4 separate regions of the Homo sapiens genome follow, and all the other regions are linked to region 1. Evidence: promoter capture Hi-C in human tissues and cell types (Jung and others, 2019). All regions are on one chromosome and are shown on one strand. Each heading gives the region's core, a stretch centred on a gene start or on the middle of the fragment in contact. The rest is flanking DNA. Distances are from core to core; before and after follow the strand shown. Region 1 holds the start of BMP7 (bone morphogenetic protein 7). Region 2 has its middle 110 kb from the start of BMP7-AS1. Region 3 has its middle 130 kb from the start of BMP7-AS1. Region 4 has its middle 150 kb from the start of BMP7-AS1.

What was found. Contacts are between HindIII fragments. The study calls those that stand out against the background at their distance.
Region 2: a fragment that was not itself captured here is called in contact with the fragment with the promoter of BMP7 in region 1 in 4 of the 25 tissues and cell types used here (dorsolateral prefrontal cortex, hippocampus, mesendoderm cells and 1 more).
Region 3: a contact is called between a fragment that was not itself captured here and the fragment with the promoter of BMP7 in region 1, in 2 of the 25 tissues and cell types used here (dorsolateral prefrontal cortex and thymus).
Region 4: a fragment that was not itself captured here is called in contact with the fragment with the promoter of BMP7 in region 1 in 5 of the 25 tissues and cell types used here (H1 embryonic stem cells, IMR-90 fibroblasts, bladder and 2 more).

Annotation. Positions count from the first base shown.
Region 1 is chr20:57,265,154-57,268,379 of GRCh38, forward strand. It overlaps BMP7 (bone morphogenetic protein 7), which reads right to left and starts at 1,488. Exons shown (of 7, transcript NM_001719.3): 1 at 552-1,488. The coding sequence starts at 969. It overlaps LOC112268270 (translation initiation factor IF-2-like), which reads left to right and starts at 1,287. Exons shown (of 2, transcript NR_171651.1): 1 at 1,287-1,489; 2 at 1,630-2,134. RefSeq lists a promoter at 976-3,226 and a cis regulatory region at 1,595-1,687. The HindIII fragment of the contact is 13,311 bases long and covers 1-3,226 here.
Region 2 is chr20:57,101,741-57,104,986 of GRCh38, forward strand. No RefSeq gene overlaps it. Among named protein-coding and RNA genes, the nearest start is that of BMP7-AS1, 110 kb to the right of the region's middle. The HindIII fragment of the contact is 6,948 bases long and covers 1-3,246 here.
Region 3 is chr20:57,084,051-57,087,593 of GRCh38, forward strand. No RefSeq gene overlaps it. Among named protein-coding and RNA genes, the nearest start is that of BMP7-AS1, 130 kb to the right of the region's middle. The HindIII fragment of the contact is 8,766 bases long and covers 1-3,543 here.
Region 4 is chr20:57,060,167-57,063,342 of GRCh38, forward strand. No RefSeq gene overlaps it. Among named protein-coding and RNA genes, the nearest start is that of BMP7-AS1, 150 kb to the right of the region's middle. The HindIII fragment of the contact is 4,827 bases long and covers 1-3,176 here.

The DNA.
Region 1 (3,226 bases), core at 238-2,737:
GGGCATCCGGCGGCCCGGAGAGGGGCCCCAAGGCGCTCGGAGCGCGCGGTACGCTAAGGCGGGCGCACCACGAGGGGACAGGTAGGGCTTGACAGGGAGGGTAAGGGGGTGCGACGGCCGCGATGCCAGAGCCAGGCAGGGCTGAGAGGGGCCCAGGAAGGGCGGCAAGGCAGCCTCGCCGGGAAGGGCCCTTTACATCCAGGTAGCGCGAGCCGCGCCGGCCCGGGACAGCTCACATGACCGAGCCCCGCGCTTTGAACGGCCCTTGCCTCCAGCCCCAGAGATGCGGCCGGCGGCGTAACATGGAGGGGACTTCGGAGGATCCCTCCTTCCCAGTAACCCCTACAGGCTCACCGAACCCAGCGCGCCCGACCTGGGGGCGCACACAGCTTGGGAGTCATAGGGCTGTGGGTGGGAGACCCTCGGGCAGGCACTGCGATTTCAGCCAGGAGCGGAAAGCTGGGCGGGCTGCATAGAAGAAGCGGCTCCCTCCCTCCCAGTCTCAAAGTGCCCCCGAAAGGAGACGCGTACCCTCGCCTGCCCTTACTCACCGAGGTTGACGAAGCTCATGACCATGTCGGCGTCGGTGAGGAAATGGCTATCTTGCAGGCTGGCCAGAGGGGGGCCCTGGGTACTGAAGACGGCCTTGTAGGGGTAGGAGAAGCCCTGGCCGCCGGGCCCGCCGCCCTCCTCCACCGCCATGGCGTTGTACAGGTCCAGCATGAACATGGGTGCCGAGTTGTGCTTGCCCTGGAGGTGCGGGCGCGGGCGGTGGGGCAAGCCCAAAATGGAGAGGATCTCGCGCTGCATCTCCCGCCGCTCCTGGCTGCGGAGGCGCCGGTGGATGAAGCTCGAGTGCACCTCGTTGTCCAGGCTGAAGTCGGCCAGGGCGGAGCGCAGCAGGAACAGGGGTGCCCAGAGCGCCACGAAGCTGTGCGGCGCCGCAGCTCGCAGTGAGCGCACGTGCATCGCGCCGGCTCTACGCGCTACCCGGGCTCCGGGCTCCGGGCCCGCACCGCCCCAGGTGGCAGAGGGGGCAGGCGGCCGTCCGCGCCGCTCGGTCACTTGCTGCAGACGGGCCCCGCTGCGCCCGCGCCAGACATGGCCCCTCCCCGGCCGGCCGCGCTCTGCCCGGACCCCCGCCCCCTGCTCGGTGCTGGCCCCGGGCCCCTCGCCCCGCACTCGCCCGGGCGCACCGCAGGGCTTGGAAAGCAGCCCCGGCGAACGAAAAGGCGAGTGAGGAGGCGGGCGCGGGTGGGAGGAGCAGCCAGCAAGCCTAGGAGTCCAGAGAGCCAACGCCGGGGAGGCAGCGAGGAGGCAGGCGGGCGGGCGAGCGCTCCTTCTTCCCGCTCCTCTGGCGCTCTCGCCCTCGGGCGGCGGCAACCCACCCTCTTCCAACCTCCGGCGCGGATAGCAGGGGCCCCGGGGCGCTCTCCCAGCCTTGTGCGCCCTGGATCGCACAAGAGGCCGCCTCGGGAGCGCCAGAGTGGTACGCGCTGGGGCCTGGGCGGAGGAGGAGGAGGAGGAGGACGGGCTTCGAGGGGCCCCTCCCGCGCCGGCGGCCTCCCACCTGCCCTCGGCCCCGCCCTCCCCCCAGCTGTGCCCAGTGGGTTCATTCATTCCCTCTAGAGCGCTCGACAAATGTTTACTGAGTGCCCACGGGGTGCCTAGAGCCTGGCGGGACGTCGCGGGGATGCGGCTGGAGGAATCGGAGCCGGCCCTGCCCTCTCGGCACTCGCGGTCCGGACCAGGAAGGCGGCCCGAGCAGGACGGGTGGGCTGCGGACCGCGGTGGGAAAAGTTGGGGGAGCGCGGAGGTGGCGCGGAAATAGAAGGCTTCCTGGAAGCGGTGACCCTTGAGCCGGTCTTGCCCCTCAGTCCCTGTATCCTTTTAAGCCAGCCACGCTGACCCCTCCGCGCCTCCCTGAAGCCGTTGCCAGCCTGTCTCTGCGCTCGCCATTCCCTCCGCCTGGACCTCTCCCCACTCACCACCTCCCGCCCCCATCAGACGCTGCTTTCTCCTCCCAGAGACCTCCAAGACCTGCCAAGCTGAGGTTGTTTCCTCGCCTCGCCCCTCGCACGTTTGTTTTCTTTCCTGTAGTTTCTCTTGCTGTCTGGAATTGCTGTTTGAGTTACTCCGTGCCTTCTTTATTGCCTTCTTACCCCCGCTAGACACCCAGAGCACTGGGGCCCGGATCAGCGATCTTCTCCGCACCTCTGGTACCCGCAGTGCCTTGAACCCAGCGCCTGGTAGCCACTGTAGCTGCGCAGTCACGATTTGTTGAGTGAATAAGTGAACTGCGTGTGAGCTGGGGGGGTTCTTCCCACCTCCTCCTCTTCGGGGCCCTGTATCTTTCCAGCCACCCCTCAGCCTGAGACCAGACACCCCAGCCCCACCACTAGGGCTTCCCATCAGCCCTCCTCGTGGCAGTGCCTGGGGAGCCAGCCGCTGGTCTTCACATCCTCTTCCCCTCCAAGGGTCTGTGCCTGAGACCTCCCCATCGGCCTCCTCTCCTGTCTCTCCTCATCCATTCATCCCTCAATCAATACCGAGCCATGCACGCTGTCACAGGGAGTCCCCAGACCACTCAGAACCCACCGGTCCCTCTGCCGGTGTGGGATCTCAAGGGAATTACTGCACCCAGAGTGGCAGTGAGGGCAGCGGGGTAAAAGTTCATCCTGTCTCCTTCCCCTCCTGGGGCTGGGTGAGAGAGTGGGTCCCCAGAGGGCCTTTGGGATGAACTGGGAAGGGCTGAGGTTGGGGAAGCGGGGGCGCTTGTCTGGGAGGGGCTCTGGCTAAGCCTCACTTTGGGGCTGTCCTTCCTGGAGCAGGAGAGCTGGGGAAGAGAATTATGGTCTTCTACAGTTTTCTGGAGCAGAAGTAGTTTGGCCAAGTGGCCCTCTGGGTCTCCCTTGGGGACTTTTGGACTAGATGGCAGCCTGAGGGGCCACATGGGTGGAGAAAGGGGAGGCCAGAGGCCAGGCAAGGAGCAGAAAAATGCCAGCCTGCAGGTCCTGGCCATTTACACACAGGCCCCAGGCTGTGGGATGGAACAGGTCTTGAGCCCCATGCCAGGGAGGGGCCTCTACCCACCCACCAGGCAAGGCCCTCAAACCACCCCCACCACCTGCTCTTCATCCATTCACTCCTTCCTTCAACAGACAAGCATGGAGCACAGGATATCAGGAGGCGAGCTGTGGGGCCTGCAACCTGGACAGTCGTACAG
Region 2 (3,246 bases), core at 636-3,135, 160 kb before region 1:
AACCCAGCTCACACTTATCCAACACACGGCATCCCAGCTCTGGCCAGATCACACTCTCGTGTCTGTTTTACAGATGAGGAAACTGAGGCTCAGACTAGAAAAAAAACTCACTGAAGATCACCTACCTACTTCACGGAGTGTTCACGGAAGATTCAAAAACACTCCAGCTCTCTCTGCTTGAGGGCGCCTCCCGGCCTTCTTAGCGTCAGGGGTGACCATGAGATTTGCCGAGGCCACATTCTCTTTTCCCACTGGCCTGCCTACTGGCCACATTTAAGATGATGGCTGCTCTATCTGTCTGGGTCTCTGAGTGATCATGGTAGCACTGTCTCTCTGCCAACCTGCAAGAGGCATGTGATGTGTGTGAGATACACCTCAGTCATGTGATGTGTGTGAGAGGTACACCTCAGTCATGTGATTTGTGTGAGATACACCTCAGTTTTTAAACCATAGAGATGTTAGGCTCGATTGTCACCTCGGCATAATCTAACCCATCCTGGCTGATACAGTCACATGACTAAGAGCCCAGAGCTAAGATTTATACCCGAGTCTGGGGCCCAGGCCTCAGGCCCTAACCACCCGGCTTCGATGGAGAGTGTGGGGCTTTCGGGGCCATCGCTGGGGCTCCTGAGGCCTGGCATTGGTGAGCAGCTCTGAGTGTCTGCTCATGGCCATGAAGGTAGGCGTGGCAGGTGGAATGCCAGGGTGACCCTTGTCAGAGCCCACCCCTTGCCTCATAATCCCCCCTATCTCCAGTGTGGAAGGGCCTGTGGATGCCATGGGCTAGCGCTCCAGGAGCAAGCTCTGCTGTGGCACCATGACTGTGTGAGTTGAAGGGACCCTGACCTAACAACCAGGTGAGCCCGGGAATGGGACGAGGCCCCTTCTGGAAAAGGAGATTCAAAGCCTAAAAGAGATTTGATGTGAGGGAGATTCTCGGTTGCTGGCTTCAAAAATGGAAGGGGCCACGGAGCCAGGAATGAGGTGGCCACCAGGAGCTGAGAGTGACCTTGACGGCCAGTAAGACCCAAGCTCTACCCCCCAGGGATGGCATTCTGCCCGATCGCATGAGCTTGGAAGACCACCCAGAGCCCCAGAGGAGCACGCAGGCTGCCAACACCTTGACTTCAGCCTGGCGAGACCTGGGGCAGGGAACCTAGTCGCACTGTGTGAAACCCCTGACCTCCAGAGCTGATGGGTAGCAAAAGGAGGTTTTAAGTCACAAAGTTTATGGCGATTTGTTACACAGCACTGAAAATGAATACAAAAGTGTGTCTGTTGAGCGTGGGGAGAACCTCTTGGAAGACCCAGCTCCTCCTTTGTCCTTGGGTCCCATTTTCCAGAAACCCCCTCGCTCAGCACACCTGGAGATCCTCCCCCAGCCCCCTGCCTCTATTCCTGGCGGCTGCTCTAATTCCTCTATTATTCCCTTAAATACCTGCTCCACTAATGCGCCTTGTGACAGAGAGGTCTACTTGCAAGGGGTGAAAAAAAAATGAACTTAAGCTCTCAAATGCAGGCTCCTAGTCAGAGCTGAAAACACTGGGCCGAGTGGGCACAAAGAATGCCAGCTCTTGCCAACGTTGTTGAATGAGGTTTTTTAGTCTCGAACAAAGCTCTCCCTTTGAGGATTAACTGCCAACAGGGAGCTCTTTGTTTTGAGTAGAATTTAAGATTATTGCTGGGATAGAAACGGGGAGAAAGGTGACACCATCAAGATCGCACCGTGCAAATCCAGGATTATAGAAAACATCATTTTTTAAAAACTTGTTGGCAAATATGGACACAGATTGTGCTGACACTCCAAAACGTCCACTTGATTTGTGACCAAGTCCTCGGTCTCATGTTTCCAAGGCAGGTGATGCCTTCAAAGATATACATGGATAGCCATGCACAGTGGCTCACACCTGTAATCCCAGCAATTTGGGAGGCCAAGACAGTTGGATCACCTGAGGTCAGGAGCTCAAGACCAGCCTGACCAATATGGTGAAACCCCATCTCTACTAAAATACACACACACACACACACACACACACACGCACAAATTAGCCGGGTGTGGTGGTGTGCCCCTGTAATCCTAGCTACTCATGAGGCTGAGACGGGAGAATCGCTTGAACCCACGAGGCGGAGGTTGCAGTGAACCGAGATTGCGCCACTGCCCTCCAGCCTGGGTGACAGAGCGAGGCACCATATAAAAAAAAAAATATATATATATATATATATGCATCCAGTATGTAGATCCTGGCACACAGAAAGGCCTATTCTCACTTGTTAGCTTTTTGTGTTGTTAGAAAAAAGGAAAACAAATCCTCAAGATACAGCCCGTGTGTTATTCCCGAGGTAGAAAACCCTGGCAGTAGGCGGAAGTGTGGGTGACTACAAGGCAGGGCTGAACGCGTCCTTCCAGAAGTCTAAGTCCTGGCCTGGTGTCCATGATCGCTGACAACATGCCCCCCGCACCTTCCGTCCCCGAGCAGAGCTTGCTGGGGGGAAGACCCTGCCTTGTTGCTCCCATTCCAACAGGTCTGCTACTCTGTCTCTCTCTCTGAGTAAACTCCAGGTCCCATTCTTGGGCCACGGTCCTCACCACCTGGCTTTCCTGCTGTGTCTCCATCTCGCCTACCCGCTCCCTCCACCCCAGCCGTGCCTGGAACACACTGGGCATGTTCTTGCCCCAGTACCTTGGCACAGTCATTCCTTTCACCCGGGATTCTGCTCCTCCAAATATCCACCTGGCTGACTCCATTTCTTCCAACTCATGCTCAAGAATCAAGAATGTCGTCTCCTCAGAGGGCTCCCTGCCGCCCTCATCTCTTCTCTGTGTACAGCTACATCTCACAGGCTTAATTCTCGATTCTCTTCTCCTCTTGGGAGTGGAGGCTCCACACTTTGATTCACATTCATCCTGGTCTCCTCGGAGCATTCAGGCCAGTGGAGAGATTATGACAACACGGGGTGCACCTGGCCACGGTCCCTGCCCTCCTGGGACTCCCACTTGGGGACAAGTCCTGGACACTAGGCTGGGAGAGAGGGTGGGAGGATCAGCAGGGGGGACGTGGGGCTGGCCTGATCCCCCTCCTCCAGCCTGCACTTGCCAAGAGGCCCCAGGCCGGGTTCCAAGCAGCCCCGTGGCTGAGCTCCTTCCTGGTAATGATTTTAGGGCCACTCAACTTGTCAGCTCTGCCTTTCGAAGCTCCTAGGCATGGGCTCTGAGCCGCGGTCACTCCTCGGTGATCTCAGCTCAGG
Region 3 (3,543 bases), core at 994-3,493, 180 kb before region 1:
AAAGGGTCTTTGCAGATGTAATCAAGTTAAGGATCTTGAGATGAAACTATCCTGGGTATCTGGATGGGCCCTAAGTCCAGCACCAAGTGTCTTTGTAACACACAGAGGAGAGACAGAGAGGAGGCGACAGCCGTGTGAGGACAGGCAGAGACCTGAGTGAGGCCACCGCAGCCAAGGAACGCTGGCAGCCACCAGAGGCTGGGAGAGGCAAGAAAAGAGCCTCTCTCGGGCCTCCAGAGGGAGCGCAGCCCCACTCAACCTCGGGCTTCTGGCCTCTAGAACTGAGAGAGGCTCCCTTGCTGGAGCCCAGCACATGTTGTCAGCGGTAGGGGAGCTGACCTCTCCTACCCGAGGCCACCCAAATGCTAGTAGCTTCTCCCACACACCCCCGGCCAAGGCCAGAAACATTGGATGCCTCAAGATGTCTTGACATATCCTAGGCTGTGGCGGCCACCCCAAAATGGGAAGTTGTTTTAAGCCCCTCTGTGGATGGTGACTTGTCTCACAGCCCTGGGAAATCCGCACAACCTCTGCTTTCTCTCAGGTCGGTTCTCCGGCCACTCTTCCTATAATGCCGTTCACAAAGGTGACAACTCAGTCCTCGACTGTCAGCAAACAGTCCCGCTCCCACAGTCTGAGGCCACGTGTCTTTGGATGAGGGGATGTCTTCTCCATCCAGAGGAGTGACCAGGGGAGGAGACCATGATGGTGGAGCTGCTGGGTGACAGAATGGACAACTGGCCTGGGAAAGACCCCGCTTCCCATTTTGGGGTGGCCGCCACAGCCTAGGATATGTCAAGACATCTTGAGCCATCCAATGTTTCTGGCCTCGACCACGGGTGGGTCAGAGAAGCCACTAGCATTTGGTGGCCCTTGGGTAAGGAGAGGCCAGCTCCCCTACCACTGACATGTGCTGGGTTTTAGGCCAGGCTGGGCCCCAACAGGGCTCAGAACAGGAGGTGGGGGGTGGGGGCAGCTGCCCCAATTCAGGCACATCCTGCCACCTGACAGTCACAGGGCGGGGTGGCATCTTCCTACTGGCAATGCTGAGGTGCGGACACTGGGGCCTCACAGCAGGCTCCTCCACTGTATCAGGAGGAAGCGGATTCAGCTGGGAGTGAGGAGGTTTGCAGACCCTCAGGGGCTGGGTTTCCCACAGCTCTGTGCCCAGGTAGGTGGCACACGGAGACACCATCCTTGGCCTTGCAAAGCCTGGATTCATCTTGCATGTCACCCTTGGATCCCCAGGAAGATCCTGCCTGGGGGTGGGGTGTGGGGTTCAGTCTGTTGTGGGGCGGACCTCAGCTGCACTGGGACAACCATGTGGCTTCAGGGAGGGGCTCTTTCTTCTCTGCCTTCTTTTACTCATTTTGTTTTTAATTTTAATTTAAAAAAAACATAAAAAGCTTTAATGAACTATGGGAAGTGTTTCTTTTGTACCATAAAGAAGAGCTGGTAGAGTCCCTGGGGCGGGGGATGGGGTGGCCTCCACTTTATGGGAAAGTCCCAGGTTTATTGTGAGCATCAAAGCCAGGGAGGCTCCTCTGTTCCAGGGCCCATCTCCATCCAGATGCCCGTGGCCCATATAGCATTGTCATCGGGTCATCATTTAACTTGTACACTCACTTTGTCACCACCCCAACCTCAAGATGAGACCCCACTGTGCAGGAGTCTGCGCTGAGTGATAGCAGTCAGTGGTCCTGACAGAAGCAGCTTGAGAGACGGCTGGGTCGTGTGATGCTTTCAAATCCCATCTCCAAGAATGTTGCGTGTGCATTGAACATCTACTACATGAACCCTTGCACAGCCTTCCTGAGAAGTCTGATACCAGGATGCTTTCAGTGGCAAAAACCAGAAACTGCCATGCCCATCATCTTAAACCCTCAAGAAGTGTGTTACCTCCCTCCCCAGAGGCCTCAGGGCAGCCCCAAGCTGGTGAATGCAGCAGCCCGCGCGGCCTGGAGGAGCCGGGTGCTTTTCGCTTTTCCACTCCGCCACCCCAGACTGGCTCCCTCGTGGTTTCAGGATGGCTGTTTTGATTTCAGGGGGTGGAAAAAGAGGATCCTGGCCTTTTGGGGTCTTTGGATCAGTGAGGACACCTCTTCCAGGAGCTCCCATCAGACCTTTCCTCACCCCTCATTGGCCAGAACTGGGTCACATGCCCATCCCGAAACCGATCACCATCAATAGGACCCGGAGTACCACGACTGACTCACAGGAACCGGGACTGGCACCTGCGCTCCCAGGGGCTCATGGGCCTGAGAGCTGGACCTGGAGCTACATCAGGGGCCGTTAGGACACAGGAAGGCAACCAAGGGTGCCTGCTGCCATGACCTTGTTCCATCCTTGAGTAGCAAGCACATCTGTGAGTGTGTGTTGGGTCCACAGGCTCAATAGTAACATACAACGGGAGCAACCCCTGTGGTAGGCAGCAGCACTTCCGAATCCCCACTCCTCACCGGCCGTTCATCACCAGAAACGTGGCTGAGTCTTCCAGGGCAGGACGCTCTGCCCACCCAGGCCATTCTCTAGTGGACAGACCTGCCTTCTTTTAGTCTAGCCCTGGGATCTTAACTGGGGAGGATTTTGCCCCCCTGGGGCATCAGTAGCTGATGTCTGGGGACATTTTTGGTTTTCCTGACTGGGAGGGAAGATTGCTAGTGACATCTCGTGGGTGGAGTCCAGGGATGCTGCAGATGCCCCACAATGCACTGGCCGCCCCCACCGTGAGTTACCCAGCCCCGAAGGCTGATGGTGCCATGGCTGAGAAAACTGCTCTATCCCAGGGTTTTGCCATTACAAAGTCATGCTCACAAATGCGTGAACGCTGTTACTTATCGACATTACAGGAGATTTTCAAAAATCGTGTTAACAGAATGCAAATGTTAGCATCAGAACGTAAGATCCAGCTTTGCGGCAACTTCGCTGTCTCAGGGGCTCCCTGAAGAAATCCTGCACCGTCTCACTTCTCACATGGCCCGTGCAAAGCTGCTGTCTAGGTGGAAAGCTCTCCCCACCCCAACCCCGACCCCTTCCCCATTCCCTTCTAACCGCCCACACCTTTCAGGGCTTGGCTGAGAGGCCTCTTCCTTCAGGAAGGCGTCCCTGACCTCTAGACCTCAGTGGTCCTACTGCCACCCGTGTGTGCTCCCTGGTCACGTGTCTGCTGTTGAACAGCCACTTGTGCGTGCTCCCTGGTCACGTGTCTGCTGTTGAACAGCCGCGCCCGCCTCCCTGCGGCCTTGCTCCTGCCCTTCCTTCAAGGGAGCCTGTGCGCATGCTGGGCTGTCTTTGCAAGCTCCCACGCCACCTACCTGCCAACCAGGTGGCTTGAGAGGGCTGACGAGAGCTCACCCTGCTGCACCTCTCTCTATGATCAGACACACACCTGCTCCGCATTGAGACTCGAAAGCGCAGGCTCCAGAATTGTTTTTTTATAATGATTTATAAAAATAACATAAATCAAAAATTACTGCTGGGAAGCTGTCCGTTTCCACACACATCTGTACCTGTGGCTTTGTGCATACAAGGCTGACTCACAGG
Region 4 (3,176 bases), core at 164-2,663, 210 kb before region 1:
AAAAAATGCAATAAAGCAAATTGCAATAAAGAAGGTATGCCTGTATAAATGTAATGCTGGGAGACACAAACTCTTTTTCAGAATATTAGAAAGGAACCATCTCAGGACAGAGGCAATGGGGAAGTGGGTGGGGTGCGGGTGAGCAGGGCTGTGAAGTCTTGAGATTTGCCTCTGCGGTTGCTGACAGAGAACGAGTTATTATTATTATTATTATTATTATTATTATTATTATTTGAGACAGAGTCTCACTCTGTCGCTCAGGCTGAAGTGTAGTGACACAAAGTCAGCTCACTGCAATCTCCACCTCCCAGGTTCAAGCAACTTCACCGTGGAGACAGTTTTCTTATTAAATTGCTTGTACTCTCTTAGAAGGATTACTCATTTGATCAGCGGGAGGAACCACTCCCAAAATACCTTTTGAGTCATTTGGGGTTTCTATTGCCTTTTGCATAAACTTTGAATTATTCTTTTTGTTGAAAAGGTTACTATTAGGAAACACGTTCACAGGCAGTCTGTAAATGTCATCATATTTCAGCTGGGGACAGAGCTACACGAGGGTTTGGAGGAGGCGGCTCAGGGAGAAGGCAGCACCTCAGCCTGTTCTCTCAATGCACTGGCTGCAAGGAGCAGCTGCAACCCAGAGCCCACTGGGCCCAGACACCTAGCTGCCACATTTCCAGGGGTGGGCCTGCTCATGACGCAGGCAAGACAGGAAAACCGGGACAAGCTCCTGACCAGGCAGAGGTCAGGGACAGCTGCTCAGGTGCCACCAAGCATGAGGCAGGGCACCACCCAAGGCTTCCTGCCCAAACCTGTGGCATGCCCTGTTGGTGCTTTGCTGAAACTGTCCTTCTCTAAGAAGGCAATGAAGACAGTTGTCCCAGGCCCCAAAAAGAAGCACTCACTCCCTTTCCCATGAGACCACCAGTTTCGGATAGAGATTCTGTTTGGCTGGCGTTCTCAACTCATTAGAATTGGAATTAAAGAGCAGGGATGGGAAGTGACATTACAAACTCCGATGCCCAGGCCCCATCCCCGACTAACTGAATCAGAAATGCTGGGAGGCGAGCTCAGGACATTATGTTTTTAAAACGCACCAGGTGAGGCTGACACGCAGCCAGGGCTCAGAACCATGGATTTCAGCCAAAAAGGCTTTAGCCCAAGAAGACCGTGCAAATACAAAATGCCAAAGGGAGGGTCATCAGGTGAGTTTCATAGAATTCTGATTCTCCTCCTAATAAAGTACGTCCCTGGTAGCTGAGAGATGGGAGAGCAGCTCCACATGTGGGACCTGCCAGGGGGATTCGGCATTCCTGCGGCCCCCTCTGCTGGCCATGATGCTCTCAGATTCTTTGCTGAAAGGGAACGGACATAGGAGCCATCCCACTAAACTCTTCAAAGGACGCTTCTCAGATGCCGGAGTCCACAGAGTAGGGCAACATACAAAGCAAGCACCCAAAACACTGGGGGTGAGAGTCTCAAACCTTGTACTCTGTAATTACATCCAGCATCACCATCACTTCTCAAAAGAGAAGACACTTTCCCAGCAAAAATAGAAAAGGAAAGCAGTTGCAGAATAGTTAAGACTGAGCCCTGAGACATCAGTTTAGCCTTGAGAAAAAAACTACTTCCATTGTCCACATTTTTCTTAGCTGGATTCCTACCAATGAACCCCTGCTGGGACTTGAGTTTGGGGGGCACTGAGTGAAGTAAGAACTTTTAGTTAAGAAATTATTCTTTGGCCGTGGTTGTAATATCGTAGTCAGGGATGGCTTCACGGGCATGTGTCCAGGGCCCCACACTTAGAAGCATCCTGCCCTGGGTTTAATGCTCTCTTGAAATTCTTCATAATTTTTGGACAAGGAACTCCGCCTTTTCATTCTGTACTGGGCCCTGCAAATTCTGTACCCAACCCTGATTTTCACTGGTGGATTTATGTAAACGTGTGTCTTTCAGTTAGTCAATAAATATGTCTTGGACACTTATCGGTGCCGGTTTCCGAGGACACACCATGTGCAGTATCGCTGAGGGCAGGATCCAGAGTGTGCCTGCCTCAGAAAGCTTTGCTTCTGGAGGGGCCACAGGGAAAATGTTCACCAATAGGAAAGCCTATAAATAAGATCATTGAAAAGATTGGGAATCTGACAAGGATATCTATGTGAAACAGGAGAGTTCCCTGAACCCCCTTGCAGGATGTGCAACAAGGGTACGGCTCATGTGTGTGCTCAAACCCCTTACAGGAGGGAGAGCACGCAGACAGGCAGGTGCAGGAGATAGGGTGAGCACCCCTGGGCTCCAGCCCCACAACAGCATCCAGGAGGTGGGATCCTGTGACTCCCGAAGCCCAAGTAGGCGTGTGTTACAGTGTGCTCTTTTAGCCTTGCCATCCATGGAGGGCTTAAGTGTTAACCAGCTCAGTCTTGGTACACAGGTCCTTGTCCAGCATTCAGGAAGAATCAGGTCACACATGGACTTGAAGGATGGTGAATGCAGGGATTTTATTTGGTGCTGGAGGTGGCTCTCAGCAGGACAGATGGGGACCTGGAAAGGGAATGGCGTGGGAAGATGATCTTTCCCTGGAGTTTGGCTGTCCCTGGGCCGATCTCTCTGACTGTCCCCAGCAGACGTTCAGACGCTCCTTCTCTTCTCTCCTCCTCCACCACTCCATTCTTCTGCTCATCTGCTCGTGGAACCTGGGTTTGGGGTTTATATGGGTACAGGATAGGGGGCCATGGCAGGCCAAAAGGCAACATTTGGGCATGAAAACAGGAGTGCCTGTTCCCATTTAGGGTTGCAGGTTTCCAGGCTTTGGGGCGGGGCCTCTGCCAGGGAGCTGCCCTCTTCCACCCAGTATTTCCCTGTCTCTTGTCTGTGTCACATGGAGGCTATAAAATGGGTAAAGTGTGGCAGGTGGCAGCAGGTAGCAGAGGCCCAAGAAGCCTTTTTGAAGGAGATGACATGGGAGCTGGGACTGGCAGGAAGAGGAAGCCATTATTTAAAGAACAAAGCAAAAGCGGCCGGGTGAAGGTGCATGTGGGAGGCTGGCAGCAGGTAGGCCATGGGGGAATGTGGGTTTTGTTTACAAAGAAGAGTAGAGAGGGGTCACTGAAACCATTTAATTGGGGAATCATAAGGTGAGGGGACATTTAGGGCAATAAAGAGCCAGTGGCAGCTGG